4 separate regions of the Homo sapiens genome follow, and all the other regions are linked to region 4. The links are contacts of gene promoters, found by promoter capture Hi-C in blood cells and fetal thymus (Javierre and others, 2016). All regions are on one chromosome and are shown on one strand. The core of a region is centred on a gene start or on the middle of the fragment in contact, and the rest is flanking DNA. Distances in the headings are between cores, read along the strand shown.

The links. The method cuts DNA at HindIII sites, captures the fragments that hold promoters and counts their contacts. A CHiCAGO score of 5 or more calls a contact.
Region 1: a fragment that was not itself captured here is called in contact with the fragment with the promoter of HORMAD1 in region 4 in 4 of 17 cell types (monocytes, neutrophils, erythroblasts and 1 more); the score reaches 6.8 in monocytes.
Region 2: a fragment that was not itself captured here is called in contact with the fragment with the promoter of HORMAD1 in region 4 in 1 of 17 cell types (neutrophils); the score reaches 7.0 in neutrophils.
Region 3: a fragment that was not itself captured here is called in contact with the fragment with the promoter of HORMAD1 in region 4 in 1 of 17 cell types (monocytes); the score reaches 5.1 in monocytes.

The regions. Positions count from the first base shown.
Region 1 is chr1:150,436,757-150,440,144 of GRCh38, forward strand. All of the region lies in intron 2 of RPRD2 (regulation of nuclear pre-mRNA domain containing 2), which reads left to right. Among named protein-coding and RNA genes, the nearest start is that of TARS2, 49 kb to the right of the region's middle. The HindIII fragment of the contact is 5,634 bases long and covers 1-3,388 here.
Region 2 is chr1:150,458,978-150,462,165 of GRCh38, forward strand. It overlaps RPRD2 (regulation of nuclear pre-mRNA domain containing 2), which reads left to right. Exons shown (of 11, transcript NM_015203.5): 9 at 1,083-1,340. Among named protein-coding and RNA genes, the nearest start is that of TARS2, 27 kb to the right of the region's middle. The HindIII fragment of the contact is 5,293 bases long and covers 1-3,188 here.
Region 3 is chr1:150,374,936-150,378,406 of GRCh38, forward strand. The region is part of intron 1 of RPRD2 (regulation of nuclear pre-mRNA domain containing 2); the gene reads left to right. Among named protein-coding and RNA genes, the nearest start is that of RPRD2, 13 kb to the left of the region's middle. The HindIII fragment of the contact is 1,920 bases long and covers 1,140-3,059 here.
Region 4 is chr1:150,719,397-150,722,585 of GRCh38, forward strand. HORMAD1 (HORMA domain containing 1) reads right to left here and starts at 1,499. Exons shown (of 15, transcript NM_032132.5): 1 at 1,408-1,499; 2 at 77-142. The coding sequence starts at 109. The HindIII fragment of the contact is 2,080 bases long and covers 160-2,239 here.

The DNA of each region.
Region 1 (3,388 bases), core at 193-2,692, 280 kb before region 4:
TAGCCAGGCATGGTGGCACACGCCTGTAATACCAGCCACTCAGGAAGCCGAGGCAGGACAATTGCTTGAACCCAGGAGGCAGAGGTCGCAGTGAGCTGAGATCGCGCCATTGCACTCCAGCCTGGGCAACGAGCAAAACTCCGTCTCAAATAAAAAGAAAAAATACAGGCTGGGCACGGTGGCACACGCCTGTTATCCCAGCACTTTGGAAGTCCGAGATGGGAAGATCTCTAGAGCTCAGGAGTTTGAGATCAGCCTGGGCAACATTGCGAGACGTAGTCTCTATTATTAAAAAAAGAAAGAAAGACATTTTGTAAGGCTATAGTTGCCGCTAATAATGATTCCTTTTATGGATCTGGGCAAAGGAAATTGAAAACCTTCTGGAAAGGATTCACCATTCTAGATGGCATGAAGAACATTTGTGATTCATAGGGAGAGGTCAAAATATCAACATTAAGGCCAGGCATGGTGGCTTTTAACACCTGTAATCCCAACACTTTGGAGGCCAAGGCAGGCAGATCACGAGGTCAAGAGATCGAGACCATCCTGGCCAACATGGTGAAACCTTGTCTCTACTAAAAATACAAATATTAGCTGGGTGTGGTGGTGCATGCCTGCAGTCCCAGCTACCATGATCAGTCATCATCAAGGCAAGACCCTCCACCAGCAAAAAGAATATGATTTGCTGGAGACTCAGATGATTGTTAAGAGTTTTTTAGCTATAAAGTATTTTTTTAACTAACATATGGATATTGTTTTTAATACATAATGCTATTGCACACTTAATTGACTATAGTATAGTGTAAATGTAACTTTTTAAAAATTTATTGGTTTGTTTTTAGAGACAGAGTCTTACTCTGTCACTCAAGCTGGAGTGCAGTGGTGTTGTCAGGGCTCACTGCAGACTCGAACCCCTGGTCTCAACCGATTCCCCCACCTCAGCCCTCCAAGTGGCTGGGACTACAGGTGTGCCCCACCACATCTGGCAAGTTTTTGTATTTTTTGCAGAGATGGGGTTTCGCCACGTTGCCCAGGCTGGTCTCAAACTCCTGGGCTCAGGTGATCCGCCAGCTTCAGCCTTCCAAAGTGCTAGAACTGCAGGCGTGAGCCACCGTGCCCAGCCTAAACTTTACAATTTTCTAGAGGTTTATTAACCAGAAAGAACAGACTCTGTTGTCACTTCTTATATTTTTTATGCTGAGATTCTTTCTGTCATTATTTAAAAAAAAAAAAAAAAAAAAGTTGAGCCAGGAACCGTGGCTCACGCCTGTAACCCCAGCACTTTGGGAGGCCGAGGCAGGCAGATCATGAGGTCAGGAGTTTGAGACCAGCCTGGCCAATACGGTGAAACCCCATCTCAACTAAAAAAATATATATACAAAAATTAGCCGGGCATGGTGTCACTGGCCTGTAGTCCCAGCCACTTGGGAAGCTGAGGCAGAAGAATCGCTTGAACTTGGGAGGCGGAGGTTGCAGTGAGCGGAGGTGGTGCCACTGCACTCCGGCCTGGGCGACAGAGCAAGACTCATCTCAAGAAAAGAAAAGAAAAAAAGTCATGCGTTGCTTAACATCAAGAATATGTTCTGAGGCCAGGTGCGGTGGCTCACACCTGTAATCCCAGCACTTTGGGAGGCCAAGGCGGGCAGATCACTTGAGGTCGGGAGTTCAAGACCAGCCTAACCAACATGGTGAAACCCCGTCCCTACTAAAAAAAAATACAAAATTAGCTGGGCGTGGTGGCAGGCGCCTATAATCCCAGCTACCCCGGAGGCGGAGGCAGGAAAATCGTTTGAACCCAGGAGGCGGAAGTTGCAGTGAGCCGAGATCGCACCATTGCACTCCAGCCTGGGTGACAGAGCAAGACTCTGTCTTCAAAAAAAAAAGAGTATGTTCTGAAAAATGTGTCATTAGGGAATTTTATCCTTTGAACATCCTAGAGTGTACTTAAATAAACGTAGATGGCATAGCCTACTAAAAACCGAAGCTATGTTGTGTAGCCTATTGCTCTTTGGCTGTAAACCTGCACTGCATGTCACTGTATTGAATACTATAGGCAGCTGTAACAATGGTAAGTACATATCTAAACTTTTTTTTTTTTAAACGGAGTCTCACTCTGTCTCCAGGCTGGAGTGCAATGGCGCAATCTCAGCTCACTGCAACCTTCGACTCCTTGGTTCAAGCAATTCTCCTGCCTCAGCGTCCCGAGTAGCTGGGATTACAGGCATGTGCCACCGCACCCAGCTAATTTTTGTATTTTTAGTAGAGACGGGGTTTCACCATGTTGGCCAGGATGGTCTCGATCTCTTGACCTTGTGATCCGCCTCCCTCGGCCTCCCAAAGTGCTGCGATTACAGGCATGAGCCACCACACCCGGCCGTATCTAAACATTATAGAACACAGAAAATTGTGAAAAGTATAAAGAAAAATCCACTCACTTTCACCAAATGGAGATTTACAAGATAACAATTTCAGCATTACTATCTTACAGTCTTTTTCTTCTATAAATGTTAGTATTGTATTTGAAACCAGTCACACACATAGTCAGGCATACCTTAGAGATATTGAGATTTCAGTTCCAAACCACCACAATAAAGCAAATATTGCAATAAAGCATGTCACACGCAGGTGGATCGCTTGAGCCCAGGAGGCTGAGGCTGCGGCTGCAGTGAGCCAAGATCATGCCACCATAGTTCAGCCTCGACAACTGAGTGAGACCCTGTCTCAAAAAAAAAGAAAATTGTAAGGTTTAATACAATTTTCTCTGTTTCTTACATAAGCCATTCTTAGGCAAGAAAAAAATTCTTTGTGAACACATGATGTTATGGATTCATAGGCTCTCATCCTTGAAAGAGGCCTTAAGTTTGACATAGCTTTTTTTTTTTTTTGTCTTCAATCTCCATATGGTTTGGTGGATTCACTTAAGGAGAGGTTACATTCCTGTTTTGTCTTTTGATAGATCTATGAAATTATTAGAATGGTTTCTGTTCTTTGGCAGATCTGCTAGAATAAAATTTCTTTTCTCTACGGCTTCATACTTTTGTCCTTGTTTTGCTTCCTGAGATCACACCAGTTTGATTCCTCTCCCTGACAATGGTTACGCCCTTCCTGCATTGTTTTTTATTTCTTCTGCATTTCACGTAAGACATAATTAAAATCTTTACTTAAATTATTAACTTTATTGGTAATTATTTCTCATTCACTTCTACTTTAACACTTTTTTTTTTTGAGACAAGGTCTTGCTCTGTGGCCCAGGCTGGGTTGCAGTGTTGTGATCACCAGTCAGTACAGTACAGATCCTCTTGCCTCAGACTCCCATGTAGCGGGTACTACAAATGTGTGCCACCACATGTGGCTAATTTTTTCATTTTTAGTAGAGATAAGGTCTCTC
Region 2 (3,188 bases), core at 546-3,045, 260 kb before region 4:
TTTAAACTTACATATGTGGCATATGTGGCTTAAATTGTATTCATGTTAAATAGCACTGTTTTGGGATGAGGGGTCACTTATACTGGAATTCCTTATTCTCTGTCACTTTTGACCATCAAGAATTCCAAAGTCAGTTTGTTAATCACACTTTCAGAAATAACCTGATTTGGTGAATTGTTTCTCTTATATCCCCAGCCTTCATAAATCTTATTAGATAGTTTGACTCCTGTTGAATTCAATGCACTATTGATACAGCCCTTAAAGCATTAAAAATAATTATTCAAGGTGATTGAGAGTTAAAACATTGTAGTTTCAAATTAGCTAGTGCCTGATTGCACCCCCCAATAGGGCAATTTCAGGAAGCCAGAGGAAAATACAATGAACACTATAGAGGTTCTGTTTCTAAGAACAGAAGTTCTTAGAAAGTTCTCAGGTTAATGGAAAAGAAAAACACAGGACAATTTATGAAAAATATCATTTCCAAAAGACAGAACACAAATGTGTACCAAATAATAACATGCTTCTTGAATTGTACAGATTTAATACACAAATACTAAGAAAATGCAAAGGAATCATTGAAAAGTAAGATACAAGATAAATTCTGGAAATTGCTTGCTTTTTTTTTTTTTTTTGAGACGGGAGTCTCGCTTTGTTGCCCAGGCTGGAATGCAGTGGCACAATCTCGGCTCATTGCAACCTCTGCCTCCTGGGTTCAAGCGATTCTCGTGTCTCAGCCTCTGTAGTAGCTGGGATTATAGACGCCTGCCACCACACCTAGCTAATTTTTTGTATTTTTTGTGGAGGCAGGATTTCACCATGTTGACCAGGCTGGTCTCGAAATCCTGACCTCACATGAGCCATTGTCCCCAGCTGGAAATTGCTTTTAAGCAGATATTAAAGGTGGGAATTATCATAAATTATGAAGAGTATGACTTTTTCAAAAAAGCATGAAGTGAGTCGTTGTTTTCTCTAAAGTAGTGCCTTTTCCCCCAAGTCCGGAAATATTAGGACATGTTATTTCATATAGGAAGCAAAGTCTGGAAAGTAGTAGGATGTAATATCTCTTTTCTTTGTTGAAACAGTCGAGGACAGGAAGGAAAAACCTGCAGAGAAGTCAGCTGTATCCACTTCTGTACCTACAAAGCCAACAGAAAATATCTCAAAGGCCTCTTCATGTACCCCAGTGCCTGTGACCATGACAGCAACTCCACCTCTTCCAAAGCCTGTGAATACTTCTCTTTCCCCTTCCCCAGCATTGGCTTTGCCAAACCTGGCTAATGTGGATCTGGCAAAGATCAGTTCCATCCTTAGCAGTTTAACATCAGTCATGAAAAATACTGGTAAGTAAGCCCAGTAAGGAGGATAAAAAGTTAATTTCCATCTTTTTAAATTGAATCATTAATCTGTTTTTGGGGGGGTTGTTGTTGTTGTTGTTGTTGTTGTTTAGACAGAGTTTCGCTCTGTCTCCCAGGCAGGAGTGCAGTGGTGCAATCTTGGCTCACTGCAACCTCTGCCTCCCGGGTTCAAGTGTTCTGCTGCTTCAGCCTCCCAAGTAGCTGGGATTACAGGCACCTGCTACCACGCCCGGCTAATTTTTGTATTTTTAGTAGAGATGGGGTTTCACCATGTTGGCCAGGCTGGTCTTGAACTTCTGACCTCAGGTGATACACCCACCTCGGCCTCCCAAAGTGCTGGGATTATAGGCGTGAGTCACCGTGCCCAGTCTGTTGTTGATTTTTTTTAATTAATGATTTTTTTTTTTTTTTCTGAGACGGAGTTTCAGTCATGTTACCTAGGCTGGAGTGCAATGGTGCAAACTTCACTCACTGCAGCCTCCATCTCCCAGGTTCAAGCAATTCTGCCTTAGCCTCCCAAATAGCTGGGACTACAGGCATGTGCCACCATGCCCAGCTAATTTTGTATTTTTGGTAGAGACGGGGTTTCACCATGTTGGTCAGGCTGGTCTCAAACTCCTGACCTCAGGTGATCCACCCATCTTGGCCTCCCAAAGTGCTGGGATTACAGGCGTGAGCCAGCGCACCCAGCTAAATTAATTGTTAAATTAAAAAATAATCCAATAATCGGTCATTATAGAAAAATTAGAAAATAAGCAAAGAGAATGAAATAAATATCTAGGCCAGGCGTGGTGGCTCATGCCTGTAATCCCAGCACTTTGGGAGGCTGAGATGGTAGATTGCCTGAGGCCAGGAGTTCGAGACCAGCCTTGGCAATATAGTGAGACCCTATCTCTAAATAAAAAATTTTAAATGAAAAAAATTTTTTAATAAATATCTATAATCCTGTTACCCCAAAGGAAACCACTTGTGTTTACCCTTAAAAGTATATGTGTATATGAATGTTTTGGAGAATTAAATATGTATAACAATTTTTAAAAAAGTAAGTGTATTGCATATACTGTTTCAAAACTAGCTATTTAAAAGTTAATTACATATCTTGAATGTTTTTATGAATCATTAAATATTTCTCTACATCATTTTTAATAGCTGCATAGCATGTGGTAACTTATCTAATCCTTTATTATTAGGCACTTAGTATGTTTCCAGTTTTTTACTGTTATGAAGAATACTATAGGGCCAGGTGTGGTGGCTCACGCCACCACTTTGGGAGGTGGAGGCAGGTTGATCACTTGAGGCCAGGAGTTGGAGACAAACCTGGACAACATGGCGAAACCCCATCTCTACTTAAAAAAACAAAAATTATGGCCGAGCGTGGTGGCTCACACCTGTAATCCCAGCACTTTGGGAGGCCGAGGCGGGTGGATCACGAGGTCAAGAGATCGAGACCATCCTGGCCAACATGGTAAAACCCCGTCTCTACTAAAAATACAAAAAAATAGCCAGGCATGGTGGCGGGCGCCTGTAGTCCCAGCTGCTCGGGAGGCTAAGGCAGGAGAATGGCCTGAACCCAGGAGGCGGAGCTTGCAGTGAGCCAGGATCGCGCCACTGCACAGCCTGGGCGACAGAGCAATACTCCGTCTCAAAAAAAAACAAAAAACAAAAATTAGGCCAGGTTTGGTGGCTCACGCCTGTATTTCCAGCACTTTGGGAGGCCAAGGCAGGCGGATCACCTGAAGTCAGGAGTTCAAGACCAGCCTGGCCAACTTGGTGAAACCCTGTCTACTAAAAATACAAAAATTAGCTGGGCATGGTGGCATGCATCTGTAGTCC
Region 3 (3,471 bases), core at 850-3,349, 340 kb before region 4:
TATTCATTGAGCAGGAGCTCTGTTATAATTGGTTATTATCCACCCTCTCCCTCCCCTTTAGATGCCTAAGTCACCTTTTTTTTTTTTCATTCCATTGCTCTAGGTTCATAGAGTTATAGGTGGTATTTTTCCAGGTTTCTGGCAATGTTTCGAAACATGGAACTGTCTTAATTATAAACTATAATTATTGTAATGGTATATATTAAGCCTTTTTGTCTGTATTGTGAGACTTTCCAAGCAGTTGTTATCTTCTTCCTTTTAGCTGCTTAGTCTCTTACAGCAGAAGGGTGATTTCATCCATGGCCTTAGGTGGGTTTGAAGCAATATGTAAAACATAATTTTACTATACCAAATTCCATAGTAAGCTAAAGAGTAAATTTTGTAGCAAATAAACATTCCCATAACTAAAAGTGTGAAACACTACTGACAAACTTCACATGGTTCTGTGACATGGAGGTATCTTGAAAGGAAAATTACAATAGCAGTGGAAAAACACTAATATTAAAATTTGCTCACAGAGGCCACCCAGAATTACTTTAATGTTAGTTTTGTCTGTAGAGGAGGGACGAGTGTATGTATGTGCGTAATTTTTTAGGGAGTAGAAGCTTACTGATTTTATTCTTTTTTGTTGTTATCAGCTTCCTTGGGTTGAATGATTTTACTCTTAATGATTTGGCTTCCTGCCTTTCTTAAACTAATAAATAATAGTTGCATCAAAATTCTTTCTTCCTCCTAGGCTTTTGTCAGTTATGTTCTCTTTTTTCCTCCCACTTTTTCCAGGTGTTTATTGTTTTACAGCAGTACTTTTAAAAGTCAAAAGGGGAGATTTTGGTCAGTTGTTTTAAAATTTCAATTGAGAATTAAGGATACATGAGGTTTAATTTGTTGAAGGAACTCAGAGACCCTAATAAAAATTACCCAAGAACAGAACAATTTACAAACCAGCTTGACTGACTTTCTCATCTATTTGTCAAGGAAACAAAAAGTAGTTGTGTTTCGTAGTGATTTCAAATTCCACTGCCCCCACAGATATTAATTATAGAACACTGGAGGAATGTACATCTTAGGGAGAAAGTAGTAGAACCTAGTTATTCCTTTTGAGAAAAGGCAACAATTCCATCTGTGCTTTGAAATATTAAAGCTTTTCTGGCTAAGATAAAGATAGTTTTTAAAAATGCTTCATTCTTATTCTCTTGTTTTTAGAGAAATATTGAAATAGAGGCTCTTTGATGAAGGAAATGAAAATGTTTGGTTTGCTGGGTTTAAATTTTACTAGTGTTTGATTGAGGCCTTGATCTCTCCCTCATCTCTCTTTCTTCACTTCTTTCTCTTATAATTAATTTCACTTACTTGCACTTTCTAGTTCTCTGGAATCCATTAGCAGAGAGAGAGAGTGATTCTTTATTACCCTTTAGTAAAAGTTGCACTGTGAAAGGAAAAAAGGATCTTTTAATGTTTGGGATTATAACTTAACATTTTTTGTTTTAAAAAACCTAGAATGGATCCTGAGCTGTTTTTGTGTTCCTTTACTGTCATCATAGTTTTAGAGTGTAGCATGATACAGTCTTTTTTTTTTTTTGAGACGGAATCTTGCTCTGTTTGTTGCCCAGGCTGGAGTGCAGTGGCGCCATCTCGGCTCACTGCAAGCTCCGCCTCCCGGGTTCACGCCATTCTCTCGCCTCAGCCTCCTGAGTAGCTGGGACTACAGGCGCCCGCCACCACGCCCGGCTGATTTTTTGTATTTTTAGTAGAGAAGGGGTTTCACCGTGTTAGCCAGGATGGTCTCGATCTCCTGACCTCGTGATCCGCCCGCCTTGGCCTCCCAAAGTGCTGGGATTACAGGCGTGAGCCACCGCGCCCGGCCGATACAGTCTTTTAAAATGATGATCTTTGTGTCTAGGAGGCAGTATTACTTGAAAGATTAAAATTCTCTTATAATATGTTATGCCTAAAGATACAGAATGAGAAAATGAACTTAGAAATACTGAGTGCTGGCCGGGCGCTGTGGCTCACGCCTGTAATCCCAGCACTTTGGGAGGCCAAGGTGGGGAGATCACCTGAGGTCAGGAGTTTGAGACCAGCCTGGCCAACATGGTGAAACCTTGTCTCTACTAAAAATACAAAAATTAGCTGAGCGTGGTGGCATGTGCCTGTAGTCTCAGCTACTCGGGAGGCTGAGGCAGGAGAATTGCTTGAACCCAGGAGGCAGCAGTTGCAGTGAGCTGAGATTACGCCACTACACTCCAGCCTGGTGACAGAGCGAGACTATCTCCAGAAAAAAAAAGAAAAAAAGAAAGGAAATATTGAGTACTTCCTCTATGTAAACCCCTGTATTGGGTGCTGAAAGAGATGGAATTATAAGGAACTTAACATTTAGTAAATGGGCCGGGCGCGGTGGCTCACGCCTGTAATCCCAGTACTTTGGGAGGCCGAGGCGGGCGGATCACGAGGTCAGGAGATTGAGACCATCCTGGCTGACGGTGAAACCCCGTCTCTACTAAAAATACAAAAAATTAGCCAGGCGTGGTGGCGGGCGCCTGTAGTCCCAGCTACTCGGGAGGCTGAGGCAGGAGGATGGTGTGAACCTGGGAGACAGAGCTGGCAGTGAGCCGAGATCGTACCACTGCACTCTAGCCTGGGCGACAGAGCAAGACTGCGTCTCAAAAAAAAAAAAAAAACATTTAGTAAGTAAGATAGGAATTGAACACATATAACTGGTTCTGGGAAGTATAATAATATGAGTTTTATATGCTCTAACAGTTTAGAATAGGTATCACTTTGGTTGGATTGCTGGATCCTTATTGTTTACTGAGGATCCTTACTAGCTATCATACATGTATTACCTATAATCTTGATGTCAGCTCTGCAAAATATGAATTTGTAAATTTATAAAAAATATGAATTTATAAAATATAGATGTGTAACAGTTGAATTTATAAATTTATTAAAAATTTATAAATTGAGTCTCAGAGAAGTAAATTGATTATTTTGGGGAAATTGTCAGAACATTTATAGTGTAGGAAAAGGAAACGTGCCTGGTTTCAGAGTGGCTAAGCATAAGCTTAATTTTGTTTTATATAAGCAGAAGTCACGTGAAGGTAAGTGGGAGAAAGAAAAGAAATACGGTGGATTCAAAGCCCAAGTTGCTTACAAGTATGTTGTTATTACTTAATAATCTTATATTTCCAGTCATTAATGTAGTTAATTTTACAAACATAACACTAATAGTTTAGTAAGAAAATAACATTTACTGAGTTCTTATGTGATTTCATTTAATATAACAATTCATTAGTTAATGTATTATTACTGAGTAAATCTATTAGTGATGTATATGTAAATTACACTGGTGACAGGTAAAATAATAAACCCTATAAATGACAATAAATTAAGTACTTGAGGGCTCAGTGAGGTTAAAATAACTTGTTCAAGGTACACAACTAATGAACAATAGAGCCAGGTTGCAAACTTAAG
Region 4 (3,189 bases), core at 249-2,748:
CAACAGAGTATTTGAGACTTCAAGAAACAATAAAAGCAGCTATTATTAAGATATACCAAAATACAAGAAATCATACCATGGGAGTCCTCTGCAACTGGGCAGTGGCCATCTTCTTCTGATAAAGTATTTTCTTTAATTCAACCTTGTGACACAAATACAAGCTTTAACTTAGAGCTCATTTTTTTCCTCTAACATTTCAGTTTACCACATATAAAATTCAAAACAATTTTATGTGAATAAATTTGAATTTCTTTAATTAAAATAGAGTCTTCAAAAACGTAGAGGTCGATATTGCAGTAGAACCATTTTGAGTAGGGTCCTGATTTGAAGCCATTTGACTAGCAAGTCTCAAACAAATGGGTTATTAAGAAACTGTTTAAGAGAACTTTTTAAAAAGGCACAATCTTCCTATTTTTATTCCCTATACAAATTCAAACAATGACAACATTGTACAGGTAGGTATTCAGTAATGAAAAATTGCCTGGCAAACCCTCTAAACTTTTTCAGTTTTATTTGTTTTTATTTTTCATTTTTTTGAGACGGAGTTTCGCTCTGTCGCCAGGCTGGAGTGCAGTGGCGCGATCTCAGCTCACTGCAAGCTCCGCCTCCCGGGTTCAAGCGATTCTCCTGCCTCAGCCTCCCGAGTAGCTGGGACCACAGGTGCCCACCATATATATATATACAATTTTTTTTTTCGAGACGGTGTCTCTCTCTGTTGCCCAGGCTGGAGTGTAATGGCGCGATCTCGGCTCACCGCAACCTCCCCCTCTGGGTTCAAGTGATTCTCCTGCCTGAGCCTCCTGAGTAGCTGGGACTCCAGGCGTGCCACCACGCCCAGCTAATTTTTGTATTTCTAGTAGACACGGGGTTTCACCATGTTGGCCAGGAAACTCCTGACCTCGTGATCCGCCCGCCTCGGCCCCCAAGGTGTTGGGATTATAGGCGTGAAGCACCGTGCCCGGCCGCTAATTTTTTTTTCTATTTTTAGTGGAGACGGGGTTTCGCCATGTTGGTCAGGCTGGTCTCAAATGATCCTCCGGCCTCAGCCGCCCAACTTGCTGGGATTACAGGAAGTTGTGTGTCCGGAACCACTGTGTCCGGCCCCAGTTTCACTTTTCTTAATCAGACAATTCAGCTGGAAGAGTTTACTAAAGAGGCAAACTTCATAGAAGAACCTATTTACGTTAAACGTTTAAATTTATCCTGACAAATCCTGAATTCGCCGTCCGTACTCACCCCATCTCAAGAACCTCTGTTGACAAGTAAGTGGGTATACATTTTTACCGCAAATGTTTTACCACTAAGACCTTAAGAAACTTAAAAGTAGGGGGAAGCTGACAGACAAAGAGATTAAAAAGTAAAATATACGCACACACACACAGATATATACACACTAATATATATTACATTACGTCTGAGGGGCGGGCGCCGGAGACCAGAAGAGCTGCACGAGGCTGCACGCGCTGTGCCCGACGCGCATGCGCTTTCCTTCAACGGTCACCCGCTGGGGCGCGACAGTGGCTTTTTGACCCCTGGTCGAGGTCACCTTTCCCGCCAAGCGCAGCGCAAGGCGCACTGGGAGCCTCAGACACGGGAAGCCTCAGCGCCACGTCTCAGGCAGTGGAAAAGCCAGACAGAAGGGGGAAGGTTAAGTAACTGCATGTGCAGTTACTGAATTTCTGATTGTTTTTCTGACTTTTGATTTTCTTTCTTTTTTTTTTTTTTTTTTTTTTGAGACGGAGTTTTGCTCTTGTCGTCCAGGCTGAAGTGCAGTGGCATGATCTTGGCTCACTGCAACCTCTGCCTCCAGGGTTCAAGCAATTCTCCTGCCTCAGCCTCCCAAGTAGCTGGGATTACAGGCGTCCGCCACCATGCCCAGCTAATTTTTGTATTTTTAGTAGAGACGGGGTTTTGCCATGTTGGCCAAGCTGGTCTCAAACTCCCGACCTCAGGTGACCTGCCTCCCTCGGCCTCCCAAAGTGCTGGGATTACAGGCGTGAGCCACCACACCCGGCTGACTTTTGATTTTCTCATTGGAACTACCACAAATTGCATTCCCACCTTCCAATCTCCTGTATCTTCAGGAAACCATTTGCTTTAGCAGTCTTCTACTTAGCCACTTCCACTGTGTTATGTCATTGGGGACAATGGATAGCTTTGAATGTAATTTGTCTCATTTAGAAACAAAATAAAATCAGAGTGGGTAGGTATTAATAGTTGGAGATTATTCAGTAGTACAAGCTTCTTAGTTTACAGATTATTATATATCCAAATACATTTCTTACCAGTGTAAACATTCAATTACAGGCATACCTTGGAGATATTGCAAGTTCAGTTCCAGACCCTCCAATAAAGCAAACAACATAATAAAGCAAATTACACAATTTTTTAGTTTTCCATGTGTATAAAAGTTATGTTGGCTAGATGTGGTGGCTCATGCCAATAATCCCAGCACTTTGGGAGGCTGAGGCGGAACAATTGCTTGAGGCCAGAAATTGGGGATCAGCTTGGGCAACAAAGTGAGACCCTGTCTCTACAAAAAATAAAAAAAATTAGGCAGAGGTTGTGGCACACACCTGTAGTCTCAGCTACTCAGGAGGCTTAGGCAGGAGGATCCCTTGAGCCCAGGAGTTTGCAGTGGCAGTGAGCCCTGTTTGAGCCACTGCACTCCTGCCTAGGCGGCAGTGAGACTTGTTTCAAAAAAAAAAAATTATGGTTACACTATTAATATCTTAATATATATATATAAATTTTTTTTTTTGAGACGGAGTCTTGCTCTGTCTGTCGCCCAGGCTGGAGTGCAGTGGTGCGATCTCGGCTCACTGCAAGCTCCACCTCCTGGGTTCACACCATTCTCCTGCCTCAGCCTCCCAAGTAGCTGGGACTACAGGCGCCCGCCACCACACCCGGCTAATTTTTTTGTATTTTTAGTAGAGACAGGGTTTCACCGTGTTAGCCAGGATGGTCTTGATCTCCTGACCTCGTGATCTGCCCGCCTTGGCCTCCCAAAGTGCTGGGATTACAGGCATGAGCCACTGCGCCCAGCCCTTAATATATTTATTGTACATATCTTATGCTTTCTGTAGTCTGTTAAGTGTGCAGGAGCATAATGTCTAGAAACACAATGCACATACTTTAATTTTAAAATACTTTATTCCTAAAAAATGCTAATGATCATCTGAACAATCA